Regions from separate parts of the Homo sapiens genome. Here region 1 is linked to region 2. Evidence: promoter capture Hi-C in 16 types of primary human blood cells and fetal thymus (Javierre and others, 2016). All regions are on one chromosome and are shown on one strand. The core of a region is centred on a gene start or on the middle of the fragment in contact, and the rest is flanking DNA. Distances in the headings are between cores, read along the strand shown.

What was found. Contacts are between HindIII fragments. The CHiCAGO score rates a contact against its expected background, and 5 or more counts as called.
Region 1: a contact is called between a fragment that was not itself captured here and the fragment with the promoter of STK38L in region 2, in 1 of 17 cell types (naive CD8 T cells). The highest score is 5.8, in naive CD8 T cells.

What each region holds. Positions count from the first base shown.
Region 1 is chr12:25,051,620-25,055,066 of GRCh38, forward strand. It overlaps IRAG2 (inositol 1,4,5-triphosphate receptor associated 2), which reads left to right and starts at 1,087. Exons shown (of 22, transcript NM_001366544.2): 1 at 1,087-1,337. RefSeq lists enhancers at 442-551, 592-961. The HindIII fragment of the contact is 1,768 bases long and covers 431-2,198 here.
Region 2 is chr12:27,242,681-27,246,153 of GRCh38, forward strand. It overlaps STK38L (serine/threonine kinase 38 like), which reads left to right and starts at 1,606. Exons shown (of 14, transcript NM_015000.4): 1 at 1,606-1,652. RefSeq lists enhancers at 317-376, 2,965-3,014 and a silencer at 1,435-1,674. The HindIII fragment of the contact is 3,512 bases long and covers 412-3,473 here.

The sequences.
Region 1 (3,447 bases), core at 65-2,564, 2.2 Mb before region 2:
ATCTGTGGTGGGGAAGGGTGATGGGGAGAAAAGCTTCAGCAAAAAGAGGACTAAAGTAGAAATATCAACCGCCAGCTTTCATCTGTGCCTGGGGGCGGTCCTTCCTGTGCTCGTGGCACGTGTTTATACTATGATTGACAACCCTTAAGGAGAAAGGCTAAGGTCATGAAACAAAGCTCTCTTTCCTTTTCTTTTCCCTCCCCCTACCTTTACCCCATTCCTTTCTTTTTCTGTAAAAGCTAGCTGTGATGTGTAAATGTTGCACCTGTCACCCTGACCTCATTGTAGAGCCATCTTCTGAGTAACTGGCAACTGGCAACTGATGCTAAGTGCTATGAATGCAGCTGGTGGGAACTGAACACACCAGTGTAAAAGATGAAACTAGAAGTCCTTATCTGTAAAGTGAGGGTGTCAGGCTAAGCGACCAATAAGCTTTGCTTAAGATTTTATATTTGTGAAGCATTTATATGTAAATACTTTCACTTTTTCCTCTGATCTCTAAGGAAGTGGTGTTAAGTTTGAGTTTGTCATAATTTCACAGGGTGACTCTTAGTTGAAATGTCACTGACAGCTTGCGGTTTGGACTTTTTTTTTTTTTTTTTTTTTTAACTCCAGTCAGAAACAACTAGAAGCCATTAAACAACTACAGGAAGATGCTGTCAACCAGGAAGGCATCCTTAGGAAGAGGCTCCAAGAAACCAGCCAACGGCTGGAGGATGTGGAGGAGCAGGTAGGGTGGCTCATGGCTACATTAGATTCAGGGGACATCTCCTCAGATGCCCTGCAAACCATGAAATAAAAATGGAGGAGGAACAACAACAACAAACAAAAAAAAAAAGCAAAGAGGAACTGCAAGTTCAGTCCCTAGCGACTAACAGTGAGCAGAGGAAGTAAAGGGGGAGTTGTAAGAGAGGCGGTATCAACAGCCTGCTGATGAAAGAGGCGACTCTGCAGAAAGAGGCAACTTGACATATCAGGACTTTAACCGCTGTAGAAATAGCTCAGGCATACCAAGCCCATGCAAACACAGAATTGCAGAAGTTCAGGAGAGGCTTATCACTTCCCTGAGAAGAAAAACACATTTTCAGTTTTGCCTGCATCATAAGAGTGAGCACTCCATTGCTTTCTTTCCTGGCCACACTGCTACAATCCAGCACTAACTATCCATGTCCAGGGTAAGGATCGAGATCGAGAAGCCCACACTGCCAGTGAAAAAGCTACGTCTTTACTGCATAAATTAGAGGAAGCAATTTCGGAACAACGGAACCTTCAAACTATAAATACTGAATTATCGAACACTTGCCAGGCACTTCAGCAGAAGACAAGGAAACTGAAGAGTGAGTAGCAAATATTCATTTATGACCCAGTTTTTGTCCACCCTCAGGCGGGGCATAGGACTACAGACATTTTTCTAGATTACAGCTAGGATATTATTCCTGAGTTTATGACAATGAAATGGTTTGAGAAGGCAATATTGTGGGGCTTTCAGAGAGGTTTGCTGAGTGGCTAGGTGCATGCATGGGTTTAACCATTAACTTCCCTTTTTGCCTTTTTATTATAAGCTGGTTTTGTCTGTGGCTGTTTTTTTCTTTTAAAATTAATTAAAACTTCTCAAAATTTCTAAAAGTAAACAAGGAGAAAAATCTAGTATGCATGGTATATTTGAACTTGCAAGTTGTTATATATTATACTCTGATTTTATTAGCTAGTTTTTTTCCTCTCATATGGTAGAAAAGGCCTTGCTCGTCTATTTTCTTTGGAAATTTTAGGGGGTTGGGCAAAATAATTATGAATTCAGTGTATATCAAAATATCAAATGTGTGAAAATTCTTTTAAAGTTTTAATGCATTCTCTACATACATCTACATACATATTTTGCATTTTAAAAATTGGAATATTTGTCATTTTTCTGTATTACCCAAAAGTATATAAACAGTTACCAGAGATTTATGTGAGAAGACAGTTGTCACATTACAGATGTCAGATTAGCTATAAAATTGTTTCATTCTAGAAACCTAATATGGTAAAAATAAACCTTACTTATTTAGCCATTTATCAGACAATTGCTTTTGTTCAGCCAGTTTCTTGTTCTAGCAGTATAAATATTCTTTTTATAGAAAGTTACTTGGTTTGAGAAATAAACATTGTTTATTTGTTAATTGTTATATAATTATAAATAATTATATATTTAATATATAAGCTTAAGGTAGGCTAGAGATGAAAAATTTCAGACTTGTGTTTGTTTTGGATTTATTGTACCCTTTCTACTATTATCTGAGAAAGCTATTTAGGAGTTTAAGAAATAGTCTAGTTTTAAAATAGCAATGGTTTGCCGGACACAGTGGCTCACCCCTGTAATCCCAGCATTTTGGGAGGCCGAGGTGGGCAGATTGCTTGAGCCCAGGAGTTTGAGACCAGCCTGGACAACATGGTGAAACCCTGTCTCTACAAAAATTACAAACAAATAAATAAATAAAACATTAAAATAGCAGTGGTTATTCAACATATTATTGTCATAATTTTTAAACCTTTATTGAATTTGCCAGTTTTCAATATTCTGATTCACTCTGTTAAGCTAGTAAGGCAGTCTTTAAATTACACAGTCTGTGTGTTATTTTACTACTGCTCAGAGGGCATTGGAGAAGGTTCCCTTGTGATTAGAACTGTTCATGTTGAGACATGAATCATAAGGCATTCCAAAGTTGGTTTAAGGTGTGTCTGCTTTAGACACTGTGCCCAGGACTATTCTTTTGCTCCAGTTTTGCCTTTTGATTAAATCAATATTATACCTGAGTTTTATAAACTACTAAGAATTTGTTCCCCTTCCTCACTGTGATTTTCTTGCAGTATTTTCTTAGAAGAGTCAACTTTAATAACTTACCCCAAAGTGCACGTTCTTGATATTATGAACTTGCTATTGTTGTCTTCCCAGTTTATCTTCACGGCCCAATAGATTCAAATACACTTAAAAGCAGAATATGAAAGCTGCCCTGGGTTGATACGTGTATTTTTTTCTGCCTGGATAACGTAGAGTGGACACTTCCTTTCTGTCTTGAGTTATGCATAACCTGTCCAGATTTATGAAATCCCTTACTTGTTACTTGTATCTTTTGCTGCCCAAAAAACCCATACAAATCAGGATTTTGCTTATATGACCATGTACTTACGATCTTTCTAACAATGCCCTTTAAATTCAATCTTTGAGAGAAGAGGGAAATTTAGATAGCACGTATTTTCAAAATGTTCTATATAGCAGATGTTCCAGATAGACTGCAAACAAATGTCAATGACTGCAGTTATCACACAAACACGTCCACGCACATCCCGCCATGACCACTGCCACCCCATGCTGTTTGATTTCTGAGTCAGACATCTGATTCTGAGTCAGAAAACAAAACATATTTATATCTATTTAGCTTTTCTGAAACTCTCTGGCTAGTTTAATAA
Region 2 (3,473 bases), core at 356-2,855:
ACTCACTTTTTAGTATTTTGGTAACTGTATGTTAACATTATCAATTTCCTTTGTAACCCTAGGTAGTTTATGCATTTAAGAACACTGTTTTGAAAAGGGGTCCATAGACCACCAAAATTCTGGTTCATAGCTCTAATTTGTTTCAGTTGAGGTACTTTCAACAACTTCCCAGGGAAATTTGTTTACAATGGTCTCAATTTAGGAGAATTTAGGAACTAGAGGTCAAAGTCTTAGGCTATCCCATATTAACCTAGACTGCTACTCTATACTAGTTCATATTACTCTAGTATGGCACATTTGAAGACATAAATTTGCTGTGGAACAAACCATACACTGTTCTCAATCTTATCGTAGCATTTGAATGGTATGTGTATGCGTGCAGTACAGGGAGAAGGGTGTATAGGCCTGTCAAGCTTGTCTGATCACAATTAAACCTCCTATGCTTGTATATGACAACTGTCATTTGAGTTTCAAAATGACCATATAAGTGGAGCTGATCTCCCCAAAAATACACTAATTACCAAACTAGAGCTTTTCCCACTACTAAGCTATGTATGAAAAAGCACAGTGTAAGAAAGAGAAATGAGGTAATGCTTCTTTCCTAGGTGTTTTGCTCGTGTCACCTGCTCTTGGGAAACCTAAAGATGACAGGTGGCATTTCTAAGTGATAGTTTTTGCAAGCACAGTACCAGCTTCATACGTTGTCTCAGTAAGCTAAAAGCTAAGAATATTTTATAAGACCTCCAATACTCATATTGAGGATAAACTTGCCAACAATAATTGGGAGTCATTCTCTCATTTGGCTTTCCCAAAGGCCAGTTTTGTCCCCAGACGCAAATTGCATCAACCTTCCCAAAGTTGTCCCTTTTGGGTCATCCTATAGGGGAGTGCTCTTCTGCACAATTCTCAGATCCTACTGATAAAGCAGGCCAGTACTGTAGTTATTTTAGATTTTCCAAGAAAACTCAAACAGGTTTTTAATGTATTTTTTGTGGCATTTACAAATCCTGGTTCCTCTCCAGTCTCTGGAGTCCCCTCATGGTGAAATGGAAGCGTCAAGGAACCTGGGTGGCTTCGAGTCCCCACAGCTACCGACTGAGCAACTTAGCTGATCCATCTTTGTTGACAACTGTTTCCCAATCTGAAAAATGCGTGAATTCTCTCTTTCCATTTCTAACATTCTTTGCATTGCACTGTTTGAAAAATTCGGATGACATTTAGAATGTGACTAATGTCGCAACACATTAGGCCACTCTCAAGAGAGGCCTGAACAGGTTTGGCGTAAAAACGGCAGTGAGGTGAGGCTGGTGAGAGGGGAAGTGGCGACAGTTCAGTCAACTCCCTCAAAACCAGTCTGGCCTTCACCAGGCGGAGATGGGTGGGGCCGGGAAGACGGGCGTTGACGACAGAAGGCTACTTCCGGCTGTGGTGCGTATGACGTCAGGGCGAGTCGGACCGACCCAGCCACCGAGAAGCCGAGGAGGCAAGGCTCGCGAGAGTTCAGGGAGGCCGCCCTGAGATTCCGGCGAGGCCGCGGGTCCCACCTCCCGGGGGCGGGGCGAGGGCGGAGCGGGGAGAAGGGAGCTGACGGGCGCCCGGCCGGCTGCGGTCCGTGCGGAGGCTGAGCCGGCCGCGGGCGCGACCGGAGGCAGGTGAGTTCGCGGATGTAGCGCTCGGCTGAGGGCCCGAGCTCGCCGCGCCAGCCCCAACTCTGCGAGCAGGAGCAGGAGGAGATTTTAGGTGTCTTTGGGTGTCCAGGGAAAGCCGGGCTAATTCTGGGGCTGGAAATGTCTCCGGGGAACCTGCGGCGACGGCCTTGGCCCTCTTATTCCCCGGGGTGATACTGGCCCCATGTGTCCAGAGAGGGAGCCTCGCACCCGGGGAGGAATCTTTGTCCTCTGCTCCTTTCTCCTTCCACTCCCCGGCCCCCGAGCACTCCGCTCCGGGTCCCCGCCTGGGCTTCACAAACAATAACAAATGTCGCGGATCCTCTCCGGGTAGCCCCAGCGCTCCCGTCCCGTGCCCTCCAGCCGATGTCACCCAGAGCCAGGATCCGAAGCATGGCTCTTCAATTGTGGGGGCTGTTTGTGTACCGTTCCTAAAAACTGATGCGTCAGATTGCCAAACATTTCTCAAGACAGACTCAGGAAAGCCTCCCAGCTCCTAGAAGCCACGGAGTGCTCAAAACCAGTCTTAGAATCTGTCTTTACCATTGCACCCGTAGCCCCTTCCTTTCAAAATCATTTCTCCCACTCCTTTTTTCACCTTTAGTATCGAGGTCGAACGAGTGGTTATTTGGTGTGGGAGTAGAAAAGAGTATAACCGATTGAGTAGGGCACGTTTCACCTTTAAAAAGTTGCCAGGTTGACAGCAAAAGAACAAACTTTATTTTCAAAACCAGTGGCCTCCCCTTTTACTGGTGCTGCTTTTGTTTTGTGGAATAGCTTTTCGGGTTCTAAGTTTGGAGGAATGATATAAAAAGAAGTGGGAGGTGGGGGGAGGGCTAGTGGCTCTGGAAGTAGTGGCTTGTCCAAAAGTAGGATGCTATTGTTTCTCACTTGATAAAATGCAGAACCAACACTTTTACCCATTTCACATAACTTGTGATAAGTTTTGAGAGAAGCCACTTAATCGGAAATGGCCTATTAGCTTATTTTACTGCTCAAATCTGAAAAAACAGCTTTAAGTGATTTAAGTTCTGCCTCTTGATTGTAAGATGGGGATTGATGAGTGAGACCTTGTCTTTTTTGGCGCTGGGGCTTACGTTTGACCGGTCTCTCTACTTTAAGGCAGGGCCTATTGTACTTAAGCCCATTTTTGCTTCCTCAGTACAGATTCTTGAAAGTTCTTTGTCTCAATCATATATGTATATAAGGTACTGTAAACCTCTTTGAATTTGATTGGCCTTTCTCTCTGTGCCTCAGGATATGTAAAACAATTAAGTTTATTATACTCTCTCCCCAGTGGCTGAGAGGTATTGTATGTGAATTAGCCACCCTTGTGACTATTTGAGGAGAGAGAAGTTAGTCTAAAATATTATGTTAAATTATGATATTACATAATTTTATTGCATAAGTTCATCAAACTACTTCCATCTGAAAAATCCTGATCTCAAAATAGGTAGGTACAATGAATTAAAAAATGTTTTGGTTTGACCTCACTTAGCTTTGTTTTCTCCTTGTTAAGATGGCTGATAATGTTTCCCATTTGGTTGTGATGTGTTTAGAATGAGAAGCAAAGTTGGGTGTAGTTTTTGTACTCTTTTGAAAGGCCTTGCCACTAGGAATGAAAAAATTAGACTTAGAAAACACACATTAAATAGAAGCAGTTTTTCTCTAGCCATTTGCTCTTGAGTTTGTTTTAAAATAAGTCAAAGAATGGAGACTGAGATGATTTGTGCCAACAAATAGATGTCCTTGTTAGTTTTTATGCTGAAAACTTGATTTCTAAAGGTAGGACACTGTAAGAACAAA